Regions from separate parts of the Homo sapiens genome. Here regions 1 and 3 are each linked to region 2. The links are contacts of gene promoters, found by promoter capture Hi-C in human tissues and cell types (Jung and others, 2019). All regions are on one chromosome and are shown on one strand. Each heading gives the region's core, a stretch centred on a gene start or on the middle of the fragment in contact. The rest is flanking DNA. Distances are from core to core; before and after follow the strand shown.

Region 1 (4,307 bases), core at 585-3,084, 340 kb after region 2:
ATTAGTATGGCTGGTACTCAAGCTCAAGATTTCTGTTGCCAAAACCTGTCATCTTAATCCTATACTATACTGTCCTTAATCTAGGGAAAGGGTATTTCTTTTTTTTTTTTGGTTTTTTTGGTTTTCTTTTGTTTTGTTTTTTTTGAGACGGAGCCCTGCTCCATTACCCAGGCTTGGCTGCAGTGGCGCAATCTCAGCTCACTGCAACCTCCGCCTCTGGGTTCAAGCAATTCTCCTGTCTCAGCCTCCCGAGTACCTGGGACTACAGGCACCTGCCACCACGCCTGGCTAATTTTTGTATTGTTTAGTAGAGACGAGGTTTCACCTTATTGGTCAGGCTGGTCTCGAACTCCTGACCTCAGGTGATCCACCCACCTTGGCCTCCCAAAGTGCTGAGATTACAGGCGTGAGCCACCACACCCGGCTGGGAAAGGATATTTCTTATACTTAGGAGGTCCTTCATAGGGATAATTGTGGTATAGAAGAAAGGATGTGGAGTTTGACTCCCTGGTTTGTGTAGTTGGGGGCTGTGACAACAGTGAGCTTTCCTGTTAATTGAAGCCATTAAGCAACTAACTGGCTGATTTTTTCTCTGCTCTGAGGTGTTAGGATTAGGATGACACTGAGGAGAAAGGCCTAACTAGGTAAGCCCTACGCATATAGAACCTTTCACAGTGAAATTTGGCTTCTTGGAATTTCTTTTTCTTCCAAGCCTGCCTCTCAGCCTGTGAGAGATCTGGAAGCTTTAAGAGAGGGGCATATGTACTGAACAAGATTCTGGGCACCTGGCAAGTCCTACGTTTGATGTTGGTCACATGAATGGCTAGGAAATTTAGCGTGGGGAATCCCTGAATGCAGAGAATTTAGTCTCAACTCTTCCTAGGGTAGTCTGAAGAAGAAAAATGGATTAGAAGTTTGGGGAAACCTTTCATTTGGACTGTGAACTGTGCTTGGAAAGGCAGGTTCTGTTTGTGGACCTAGGCCTGCTGGTGTTCTGCCTGTTCTGGACATGTAGCTTCGCCCATTGATCCAAGTGTTTTCTGTAAAATTCTATCACTCACTACCTGTGAACTTTATTTATTTATTTTAAGGTGGAGTCTCACTCTGTTGCCCAGGCTGGAGTGCAGTGGTGTGATTTCAGCTTACTGCGACCTCCACCTCCCGGGTTCAAGCGATTCCCCTGCCTCAGCCTCCGGAGTAGCTGGGATTATAGGCACACACCACCACGCCTGGATAATTTTTGTATTTTTAGTAGAGATGTGGTTTCACCATGTTGGCCAGGCTAGTCTTGAACTCCTGGCTTCAAGTGATCCGCCCACCTCAGCCTCCCAAAGTGCTAGGATCACAGGCGTGAGCCACTGTACCCGGCCAGCCTGTGAACTTTTATTACAATTCTGTAAGCTTTAGAGACAGGCAAGATTGGGTATCTGTCCTGGCTCTGCTTCATGTGAGCCTTTGTCACCTTAGTCAGAAACAAAACCCTTTCAGTGCCTCATTTATCATCAAATGAAGTTGATGATAATACCTGACATTTATCACTGTATGCATCATAATATCCTAACAGAGTTAGTAAGTATCTCATTTGGTCCCTTTCTACCTTTGTTTCTGTTTTGAGGAAAAATTCACATAGCATAAAATTTACAATTTTAAAGTGTACAATGCAGTAGTTTTTAGTATATTTATACTGTGCAACCATTTCCACTATTTAATTCCAGAATATTTCCATCACTCTAAAAACAAATCTTATATCTGCTAATAGTCACTCCCAACTCCCTTCTCTCCCCAGCTGTTGGCAGCCACTACTCTTTCTGTGGGTTTGCCTATTCTGAACATTCCATATAAATGGAATCATATAATATATGCTTTTTGGAATTGGCTTCTTTGACTTTGCATAGTGTTTGGTTCATCCAGGTTATAGCATGTAACATAGTACTTCATACTAGTCATAGGAAACATTACTTCCAAAAGCAGCCCATTTCATTAGAGATGGCTCTAAGTATTTTATCTCTCATTTTGAATGAGACCTGTACCTCAGTAATTTAAACTGAATCTGCTTTGGACCTCTGAAGCAACATCCTTTCAGGTATTTGAAGATCATTTTCATTACTGTGTCTTTCCCTTCTCTAAAAATTTTCTTGGCTGCGCATGGCAGCTCATGCCTGTAATCCCAACACCTGGGGAGGCTGAGTTGGGAGGATCACTTGAGGCCAGGAGTTCAAGACAAGCCGGGACAACATAGCAGACTCTGTCTCTACAAAAAGTTAGCTGGGCATTAGCTGGGCATGATGGCTTGCACCTCTTATCCTAGCTACTCAGGAGGCAGGGGAAGGAGGATCACTTGAGTCGAGGAGTTCAAGGTTACAGTATGCTATGATCACAACACTGTACTCCAGCCCGGGTAGAAAGTTTTTAAAATACTATTGGTCCCAATAAAATACATTTGCTGCATGCCAGATGTGGCCTTTAGCTTACCAGTTTGCAGCCTGTGGTTAGCTTCTGTTAGTATAAATTAAAGGTCATGTTAGCATTTTTAAGTGATTCTTTTTGGACAGACATAACTGTCCTAGTGGCAAAGAAGTCTAGAGTTTTGGCGGAATTTTAAAATAACAACTTTATTGAGATATAATTCACATACCATACTGTTCTCTCACTTAAAGTGTATAATTCAGTGGTTTTTAGTATATACAGAGTTGTTCAGTCATCACTAGGGCCCATTTAAAATGTCTTTATCATTCCAAAAAGAAACCCCATGCCTTTTATCTGTCTTCCACCAATCTATTTATTCCCTCCAGCCGTAGGCTACTACTCTGCTTTCTGTCTCTAAAGATGACAAGGGTTTAGCCTCCAGAAGGCTAAGTCCAAGGGTTTAGCCAGTCACAGAAGACCACTTTCTGTATGATTTCATACAAATGAAATTATACAATAAGTGGTCTTCTGTGACTGGCTTCCTTTTTGTTTTTTTTTTGTTTTTTTGGTTTTTTTTTGAGACGGGGTGTTGCTCTGTCGCTCAGGTTGGAGTGCAGTGGTGCGATCTCAGCTCACTGCAACTGCAACCTCCGCCTCCCAGGTTCAAGCGATTCTCCTGCCTTCCTGAGTAGCTGGGATTATAGGCACGCGCCTCCATGCCTGGCTAATTTTTGTATTTTTGGTAGAGGTGGGGTTTCACCGTGTTGGCCAGGCTGGTCTCGAACTCGTGACTTCAGGTGATCCGCCTACCTTGGCCTTCCAAAGTTTGGGATTACAGACGTGAGCCATCACGCTCAGCTGACTGGCCTCCTTTCACTTCGGATGTTTTCAAGGTTCATCCATGTTGTAGCATGTATCCCTACTTTGTTCTTTTTTTTTTTTTTACTGTTAAATGCGATTTCACTGTATGCATATACTACGTTTCATTTATTCATTGATCCATTGACAGGCATTTGGATTATTTCTACTTTTTGGCTATTATGAATAATACTGCTTTGAATATTTGTATATAAGTTTTTGTGTGGACATGTTTTCAGTTTCTTGGGTATATACCTAGAAGAATTTCTGGGTTCTGGGTCATACGGTGACTCTGTTTATTTTTTTATTTTTTATTTTTTTTTTTTTGAGACAGAGTCTCACTCTGTCGCCCAGGCTGGAGTGCAGTGGCACGATCTCAGCTCACTGCAACCTCCGCCTCCTGGGTTCAAGTGATTCTCCTGCCTCAGCCTCCCAAGCAGCTGGGAATATAGGCACGTGCCACCACACCCGGCTAATTCTTTGTATTTTTAGTAGAGACGGGGTTTCACCGTGTTAGCCAGGATGGTCTCGATCTCCTGACCTCATGATCCACCTGCCTCAGCCTCCCAAAGTGCTGGGATTACAGGCATGAGCCACCACGCCCGGCCTGTTTAATTTTTTTAGGAACTGCCAAATTGTTTTCTGCAGAGAGCCTGTACCATTCCTACCAGCAACATATGAGGGTTCCAAATGCTCCATATCCTCACCAACATTTACTTTATTATAGCTATCTTTAGTGGGTGTGAAGTGGTACCTCACTGTGGTTTTGATTTGCATTTCCCTAATGACTAATGTCATTGAGCATATTTTCATGTGCTTGTTAGCCAATTATATATCTTCTGTGGAAAAATGTCTATCTAAATACTTTGCCCACTTTTAAATGGGATAATTTGTCTTTTTATTAGCGAGTTGTAAGTTCTTTATATATTCTGGACGCTAAACTCTTGTCAGATGTATGATTTGCAAATATTTTCTCCCATTCAGTGGGTTGTCCTTTTACTTTCTTTAAATCACCAAAATTTTCCATTTTGTTGAAGTCCAGT
Region 2 (4,809 bases), core at 1,518-4,017:
CCAGATTCCTTACAGATGTTGAAATTATCTGCCCCATCCCCCCCAGGGGACCCAGTGAGGGAGAGGAGAGCAAAGCTCACGCACACACAAGCAGAAACACATATGTGCACATACAAGGGGCAGGCGGCCACACTCACCCTGGGTCCACAATCCCTTTCACCTCAGCTTCTTGGTTTTTCTGCTTTTCCTAGCTGGGTTTGGGTCCTAGGAGTTCTGTTCCTGCTTGGCGAAGCAGCTGAGCTACTGAGCCCAGAGGGCACCCAGCAAGGCCAGGCAAGTTGCCCGGTCAACTTCCCCTGGCTTTGGGCCCTGGAAAGCTGCACCCTCTGTCTCATCCAGAGTCTGGGCCTCGGGGTGGGCCTTTTATTAGAGATTCAGGGCCAGCCGTGGAGGAGGAGAAGCACGTGAGCTAGAGGGATGGAGTCTCCACCATGAAAAGGATCAGCAGGACTTGGGGTTCTCTGGGGAGGCGGCGTCCTTCTGCAGGGAGAGCTCACTGCCTGTTCCTCCCCACCCCACTGGTCCTACCAGCAATGTGTCCACAGGATTGGCTTACGTATTGGGGTGGGAGGTTGTTCTCTTACACACAGAGACACAGGAATACATACGAATGCACAAAGCCAGTCTGAGAGACAAACACAGAGATGCTCAGAGACATAAACGTACGAAGACACAGGCACACACACTCTCCAGCTCACTGCACACAGGCTCAAGGGTGCCAACACCTCAGATCACCCTGAGCCCAGCCCCTAGACTCTGCTATAACTGCCCACACGACCACACATACATGGTCACATATGTGCAAGGACCCCAGCACCCCAGGATACCAGTTGCAGGCCTGTGATACTGTGACTCTCCTGTGTCATCTCACCTGTATTTGCCCCATGGCCGAAGGTAGCCCAAAGACCGAGCAGCCACAGGCCAGGAGCCCAGGATACCCACATCCCGGTCCAAAGAGGTCAGCTACAGCCACAGCACCTGAAAACCACAGAGACCGGGAAGGCGGATTTCTGAGTTCACACAGCACAACTCCACACGTGGGCAAGTCGTGGACAGCCTGTGGGGCCCAGGCACTGGTATTGGGGTGGCAGGAGGTCTGGCCAGGCATCAGTCTCTCTCAGAGGCCCAACCACAGCCCTTGGGCTAGGATTTGAGCAGAGGCGATATTCAAAATATTTAACCACCGGTATGGCACGGATACCAGCTTTCAGGCAAAGCAGAAAGCTGCCTACTGCACTGAAATAGTGTCCAGGCAGCATCTGGCTGTGCCAGTGGATACTTGCTGGATTGGGAGAGGTCTAGAAGGTCTTAGAAGGCCAGAGAAGTTGGAATAGTGATGAGGGCTTAAAGAAGAGGCTATTCTTCAAGACACGTGGAAGTATTTCAAGTCTAGCATCTTGTGCACTGTCCTGGTATATATACCAGCCTGATACCTTACTAGCGCACCCAGCTCAGCCCAGGAAGCCCTCCCAGGCACCCACAGGGTCAGGGGCTGGTGACTGGGCTGAGATTGTGGGCCACAGCCTTCCATAGGGCTGTGTGGGGGCCAAGGAAGCTTTCCCCATAGGTATAGTGGGCAGGAGAGCAGGTCTCTAGGGCTCAGGACCTCATTGCCAGCCACCCCCGCCCCCAGCTGATGGATGCTTGTCTTTTAGTTTTATTAAACCCTGATGGATGGGCCCAGATAAATCGATGCAGGCTCAGCAAGTGGCCAGCAGAGCCATACATCGTCTGGCCTCCCCCAGGACAGGCAGCTCACGTGCACAAACACAGAGCCATGCATGTGTCAGCACAGCACATGCAGATGCGCAGGTACATGTACATAAGGACACATATGTGGTACCAGTGTGCATACAAAGCTATCTGCACACAGGCATGCTCACGGAAACATATGCTCGCTGATATACCCAGACACACCAGCTTGCATATACCCACATGCGCACAGCCAGCCTATGACCACTCCTCCTGTAGGTCTTCCTGTTGGGAAGTTCTAATGCAAGTCTGACTGCATTCCTTCCAACTCTAATGAAATCCAATTTTCCTTCCCTCAATCATGGATAGGAAATGAAAACAGAAAGGACCCCTTACCCCAATATATTTGGAGATAGGACTCCAGCCCCCTTCTCCCTGGGACAGAACTGTGCCCCCAGCCTGCCTATTCATCCCCCATCCTAGTGATATACACATCCCAGCTCTCAAACCCTATCCTGGTCTTCCTCCTGCCAGCCAATAGAAGGGCTGCCAGCTGTGGCGCCATGTGGGTGCATGTGGAGGCGTGAGGATGGATGTGATCCTGTCCCCTTCCGGCTCCTAGTCTCTGGTCGCCACTCCTCAGGCTCCAGCCAGAGTGCAGGGCTGCAAGGACAGAGCCAGAGAAGCTTCCAAGGAGACGGCTCACCCCAACACAGAGGCATAGATTTGGGCGCAGGGAGTCAGAACCAGGATGGAGTTTAGAGCTCATCTCGCTCTAGAGAAGACGACCAAGGCCCAGAGAGGGAATGCCACTTTCCTCAGGTCACACAGCAAGTCTGGCAGAAAGGGCCTCTCAGCCCAGAGCCCTGAGGCCGCCCACTGTATCCCTACTTACCGGTGGCCGGGGATCCCCCCACCTCACTGAGCAGTCCAGGCAGCAGGCGGAGGAAGCAGAGCCCAGGTTCCTCAGGTCCGCTAGGGGTTCTCTATCTCTCCGTGACGGTCACGGGTCCCCAGCTTCCTGGCGCTCGAGCTCTCCCGGCTGTCTGCTGCCCGGCGCACGCCTGCCGGGGACTGCCGGCCACTCCGGGTGGGGGAAGAGAGGCGGTTCCAGGGGGCTGGGGGCCTGCCAGGGACACTAATGGAACACAGCTGGACCGGCCCGCCAGGGAGGAGGAGGAGGAGGGCCTAGAGGGGGCTCCAGCGGCACCAGAGGCGGCTAGACTGCGGGGTGCACAGCCCCGCCCCGGGTCTGGCCGAGCTCCCAGGCCCGCCCCTCCTGCCTCACCGCCAGGTGAGCGATCCTCGAGCTAGGCGGGACCCTACGTGCCCAGAGCTGCCCTGGAAGGGGGCTCCTGCGGGCCCTTTAAGAGTCAGGCCTGGAGTTTGAAGAGCTCCCCCTTTCCATGTCCCTGGCTGGGCCCCCAGAAGGCTGCGGGGTGGGGGGGCGGGGAGGGGACAGGGGTGGAGGGAGCAGGGTAGAGACCCTCCTCCCAAGTGCGTGGCACCCATGATGTGGCTGCCGCCCAAGCCTCGGTGGTCAGCTTTTTCCAATTCCTCTGCCTAACATTCCCAGTCAGTCTGTCCCTAGGTCTGTCTGTACTGGGAGGAGGAGGGTGGGAACCCCCTCCCTCCTCCGTGCTAAATTAACCCCCTCTGCTCTGGCCTGACTCCCAGAGAAGTGAGACTGAGGGAGTCCCCTTATTCCTCCTTACTCCATGAGGTTGGAAGGGCTCAAATCCCTGGCCCCTGCTCTGGCTTTGCGGTTCCAAATGTGCTGTGTAACCATACTCCGTTTTCTCATCTGGAAGATGGGATCGTGAGAGTATATGCCTCATAGACCTTTGCTGTAAGCAGGAAATGGGCCAAAGGCTGTAAGCGCTTAGCACACGGTCTGGCACATGAGAGGAGCTCAGTAAATATTTGCTGCTATTATCGTTATTACTGTGATCCCTGGCAGGGGACGGGACTGGATTTCAAGCCTTTACACCAGCACTGGGGAGGGACCTGCTTTATATTCACGGTCCAAGGACGCAAGAGGAATTGAGCTGGGCTGAAAGATTGGAGCTCTGAGGAGGAAGGAGCCGGTAATGTTCCGAGTTCTGCCCAGAGGCAGGGCCGTTGACCAAGGTGGAATCCCCACCAAGGGTCTCCTCCCGCTGTAGACCGAAAGCAAATTTATTGGCACCAAGGCTGAGGATCCACAAAGTAGGTTCAAGAGGCCATGAGATGCTGGGCTGAAGAGGGAGAAACTGAGCGTCCCCAGTTGAGGGGGGCTCTGGGGGCTCTGTGGAAGCAACGCGCCTAGCCCTGTGGCCTCGGCTAACCCGGGGTAGGGGGAGGTTGTAGGGGCAGGCCTGGGATTTCCCGCCTCCAGACCCAGAGGCGCTGAGTCAGCGGAAACCCCAACCACGCCACAGAGGCGCCCCACTGTGGTCCCAGTGAGGAGCTGGCCCCAGATGTGGCTGTGGCAGTGGTGGGGCCTGGGAAGTGCTGAGCTCAGCAGGCGGGAAGCGGAGGGGGTGGGGCCTTCTGAGCACTCTGGCCTGCGGGGTGGGTGGGCACAGGCCCCGCCTGCCCTACCAGAGGGTGCTGCCCCAGCAGTGGGCACTCGGGAGAGGTGGGAAGCGCATATAGGTCAGGCTCTGTGCTGAGAACTTCACATATGCTAACTCCTTCGATCTTTACAACAACGCCTTAAGGCAGAATTCCATTTTTATTCCCAAACCTGCAGCACAGGAAAAACACAACTTGCCCGGGATCCCACAGCTAGTCAGTGGTGGAGCAGAACTCATGTCCAGCCAGCCTAGACTCAGCACGTGCTCTTAACCACCATGCCATCCTGACAGCTCCCACCCGTGCCCCAGACAGGGCAGGTGGCTGGGCCAGGGATGGAGGAACCTGAGAAGGGAGAGCCAGATGCCTTCCCACAGCACCCCAAGGGTGCTCACAGGAACAGCCAAGCCTGGGACACACCTTACGCCTAGAAACACTATCATAGACAGTCTAGGAATGTGCCCATGCCCCTTCCTCCCTTCCACACATACGTGCACACATCCAGAAACACGCAGTCAGGTAAAGTTCTAGCACAGCACTTGAGTACGCAGACTCCATATG
Region 3 (4,608 bases), core at 1,251-3,750, 260 kb after region 2:
TTTATTCCTTTTCCACTCCCACAGCTTCACTTGACTTAACTAGCCTTAAAAAAAAAAAAAAAAGGGTCAGGCACAGTGGCTCACGGCTGAAATTCCATCATTTTGGGAGCCCAAGGTGCGTGGACTGCTTGCACTGAGGAGTTTGAGACCATCCTGGGCAACGTGGCGAAAGTTCTTCTATACAAAAAAATACAAAAAATTAGCTGAGGTGCGGTGGTGTGCACCGGTAGTCCCAGCTACTCAGGAGGCTAAGGTGGGAGGATCGCTTGAGGCTAGGAGGTTGACACTGCAGTGAGCTCTGATCACGCCACTGCACTCCAGCTTGGGTGACAGAGTAAGACTCTAAAAAAAAAAAAAATGAGGCTGGGCACAGTGGCTCACACCTGTAATCCCAGCACTTTGGGAGGCCAAAGCAGGCAGATCACTTGAGCTCAAGAGATCGAGACCAGCCTGGCGAACATGGCGAAACCCCGTCTCTACTAAAAATACAAAACTTAGCTGGGCGTGGTAGTGGGCGCCTGTAGTCCCAGCTACTTGGGAGGCCAAGGCAGGAGAATTGCTTGAACCTGGGAGGCAGAGGTGGCAGTGAGCCAAGATTATGCCATTGCACTCCAGCCTGGGCAACAAGAGCAAAACTCCCTCTCAAAAAAAAAAAAATGACAGATAAATCTATCTGGATGTGTTGGTATGGAATAATCTTCAAGATTCATTGTTAAGATTGTTTTTAAAAGAAAAAAATAAGTTTATGTGTCTGTTTAAAATAAGAATTTGTATAGATGTAGATATATCTATTTAGGTATGTATAGAACACATTGGAAGGAAACACCTCCAATAATGACTGCCTCTGAGAATGGAGGAAAGAGGGCATGGCAGTAGGAAGGAGAACTAATTCCTACTGGATATCCTTATGTACTATTAAATTCTCTTCTTTTTTTTTTTTTTTTTTTTGAGACAGAGTCTCGCTCTGTCACCCATGCTGGAGTACAGTGGCGCGATCTTGGCTCACTGCAAGCTCCGCCTCCCGGGTTCATGCCATTCTCCTGCCTCAGCCTCCCAAGTAGCTGGGACTACAGGCGCCTGCCACCACACCCAGCTAATTTTGTGTATTTTTTTGGAGAGACAGGGTTTCACCGTGTTAGCCAGGATGGTCTCGATCTCCTGACCTCGTGATCCACCCGCCTCGGCCTCCCAAAGTGCTGGGATTTTAGGCATGAGCCACCGCACCCAGCCTGTACTATTAAATTCTTTATCATGCACATTATTACATTTTCAAGGTAAAATTTATTTAAAATTTAAAATGTATTTCAAAAGACCTTTGGATATAATGGAATCAGAAAGACTTGGGTTCAAATCTAGACTCTGAGACTTACCAATTATATGACCTTAAGTAAATCACTTAACTACTTCGAACTTCAATTTTCTCATTCCTAAAATAGGATTAGTGGCCAGGCATGGTGGCTCATGCTTGTAATCCCAGCAGTTTGGGAGGCTGAGGCAGGCAGATCACAAGGTCAGGGGTTCGAGACCAGCCTGGCCAACATGGTGAAACCATGTCTCTACTAAAAATACAAAAATTAGCTGGACATGGTGGCACACGCCTGTAATCCCAGCTACTTGGGAGGCTGAGGCAGAAGAATTGCTTGAACCCAGGAGGCAGATGTTGCAGTGAGCCGAGATCATGCCACTACATTCCAGCCTGGGCAACAGAGTGAAACTCCATCTCAAAAAAAAAAAAAAATAGGATTAGTAACATCAACCTCATGGTATTATGAAGATTAAAGAAGCTTTTGGGAGCTGGGTGCAGTGCCTCACGCCTATAATCCCAGCACTTTGGGAGGCTGAGGTGGGCAGATCACTTGAGGTCAGGAGGTCGACATCAGCCTGGCCAACATGGTGAAACCCCATCTCTACTAAAAATACAAAAATTAGATGGGCGTGGTGGCAGGTGCCTGTAATCCCAGCTACTCAGGAGGCTTAGACAGGAGAATCACTTGAACTTGGGAGGCAGAGGTTGCAGTGGCATCCAGATTGGAGTAAAATTGTATTTGCAGATGACATGATCTCGAATATAGAAAATCCTAAGGAGTTCACAAAATACTATTAGAACTAATAAATGAGTTTGGTGAGGTTGCAGGATACAAGATCAATACACAAAAATCAGTTGAATTTTTATACACTGGCAATGAACAATCTGAAAATGAAATTGAGAAAATAATTTTTATTTACAATATCATCAAGAAGAATAATATACATAGGAGGAAATTTAACAAAAGAAGTATTATACAAGACTTGGATAGGCACGGTGACTTATGTCTGTAATCCCAGCCCTTTGGGAGGCTGAGGTGGGCAGATCGCTTGAGGCCAGGAGTTCAAGATCAGCATGGGTGATACAGTGAGACCTCGTAGCTACAAAAAAAATTTAAAAATTAGCTGGGCATGGGCTGGGCACAGTGGCTCACCCCCGTAATCCCAGCACTTTGGGAGGCCGAGGCGGATGGATCACGAGGTCAGGAGATCGAGACCATCCTGGCTAACATGGTGAAACCCTGTCTCTATTAAAAATACACAAAATTAGCTGGGTGTGGTGGTGGGCGCCTGTAGTCCCAGCTACTCAGGAGACTGAGGCAGGAGAATGAAACCCGGATGGCAGAGCTTTCAGTGAGCCGAGATCGTGCCACTGCACTCTAGCTTAGGCAACAGAGCAAGACTCCGTCTAAAAAAAAAAAAAATTACCTGGATGTGCACTCCTGTAGTCTCAGCTACTTGGGAGGCTGCGGCGGAGGATGGCTTGAGCATGGGAAGTTGAGGCTGCAGTGAGCCAAGATTGCACCACTGCACTGCAGCTGGGGCGACAGAGCAAGGCTCTGTCTCAAATATAAATAAATAAATAACAAGATTCAGACACTGAAAACTATAAAAATGTTAAAAGACTTTGCGTCTGTTTTTTTTGTTTGTTTGTTTGTTCGTTTGGTTGGTTGGTTGGTTGGTTGGTTGGTTGGTTTTATAGAGAGAGTCTTATTCTGTTGCCCTGGCTGGAGTGCAGTGGTGCTATCACAGCTCACTGCAGCCTCTAACTCCCAAGCTCAAGAGATTCTCCAGCCTCAGCCTCACAAGTAGCTGGGACTACAGGTGTATACCACCAAACCTGGCTAATTTTTTTCATTTTTTGTAGAAACAAAGTCTCACTATGTTGCCCAGGCTGGTCTTAAACTCCTGGGCTCAAATGCTCCTCTCGCCTCCACCTCCTAAAGTGCTAGGATTAGAGGCGTGAGCCTCCGCTCCTGGCCTGTTGAAAGAAATTTAATAAGACCTAAATAAATGGGAAGACATCCCGTGTTCCTATATTGGAATGAACAGATGGCATTCTGGGGAGTAAGATGGCAATACTCCCCAAACTGATCTACATTTTCAGTGCAATTCCTATCAAAATTTCAGCTGGTGTTTTTTTGGGTTTTTTTTGTTTTTGTTTTTGTTTTTTGCAGAAATTACCAAGCTGATCCTAAAATTCATATGGAAATGCAAGGGACACAGAATAGTCAAAATAATCTTGAAAAAAAATAGTTGGAGAACTCACTGATTTCAAAATTTATACATAGCCAAAGTGATAAAGACAATATGGTACTGACATAAGAATAAATATATAGGCCAGGCGTGGTAGCTCACGCCTGTAATCCCTGCACTGTGGGAGGCCGAGGGTGGGGCAGATCATCTGAGGTCAGGAGTTCGAGACCAGCCGGGCCAACATGGCAAAACCCCATCTCTACTAAAAATACAAAAATTAGCCAGGTGTGGTGGCACATGCCTGTAATCCCAGCTACTCATGAGGCTGAGGTGGGAGAATCTCTTGAACCCGGGAAGTGGAGCTTGCAGTGAGCTGAGATCATACCACTGCACTCCATCCTGGGCAACAGAGTAAGACTCTGTCTCAAAAAAAAAAAAAAAAAAAGAATAAATATATAGATTAATGGAATAGAACTGAAAGTCCAGAAATAAACCTTTACATTTGTGGTCAATTTTGAACAAATGTATGAAAACAATAACTGGATATTCACATGCAAAAAAAATTAAAATGAACCCCTGTTCACACTATATAAACAATTTGATCAAAAATGTAACAGACCTAAATGTAAGAGCTAAAAAAAGCATAATACTCTTAGAAGAAAACATAGGAATCAATCTTCACGACATTGGATTAAGCAATAGTTTCTTAGATATGATACTCAAAAGCACAGACAAAACAAAAAAAAGATAAATTGAACTTTGTAAACATTAAAAACTTTTGTGTTTCAAAGGACACCATCTCTCTCTCTCTTTTTTTTTTTTTTTTTTTGGTTTGAGACAGAGTCTTGCTCTGTCGCTCAGGTTGGAGTACAATGGTGCGATCTTGCCTCACTGCAACCTCCGCCTCCCAGGTTCAAGCAATTCTCATGTCTCAGTCTCCCGAGTAGCTGGGATTACAAGCACCTGCCACCACGCCCAGCTAACTTTTGTACTTTTAGTAGAGACGGGGTTTCACCATGTTGATCAGGCAGGTCTCGAACTCCTGACCTCAGGTGATCCACCTGCTTCAGCCTCCCACAGTGCTGGGATTACAGGCATGAGCCAGTG

What was found. The method cuts DNA at HindIII sites, captures the fragments that hold promoters and counts their contacts. A contact is called where the count stands out against the background at its distance.
Region 1: a fragment that was not itself captured here is called in contact with the fragment with the promoter of COL16A1 in region 2 in 1 of the 25 tissues and cell types used here (spleen).
Region 3: a fragment that was not itself captured here is called in contact with the fragment with the promoter of COL16A1 in region 2 in 1 of the 25 tissues and cell types used here (IMR-90 fibroblasts).

The regions. Positions count from the first base shown.
Region 1 is chr1:32,046,089-32,050,395 of GRCh38, forward strand. It overlaps a transcript of KHDRBS1 not described here. Among named protein-coding and RNA genes, the nearest start is that of TMEM39B, 25 kb to the right of the region's middle. The HindIII fragment of the contact is 3,894 bases long and covers 1-3,781 here.
Region 2 is chr1:31,701,250-31,706,058 of GRCh38, forward strand. COL16A1 (collagen type XVI alpha 1 chain) reads right to left here and starts at 2,768. Exons shown (of 71, transcript NM_001856.4): 1 at 2,588-2,768; 2 at 872-978. The coding sequence starts at 944. RefSeq lists an enhancer at 127-879 and a silencer at 4,189-4,238. The HindIII fragment of the contact is 8,325 bases long and covers 1,967-4,809 here.
Region 3 is chr1:31,965,463-31,970,070 of GRCh38, forward strand. No RefSeq gene overlaps it. Among named protein-coding and RNA genes, the nearest start is that of PTP4A2, 29 kb to the left of the region's middle. The HindIII fragment of the contact is 5,460 bases long and covers 1-4,608 here.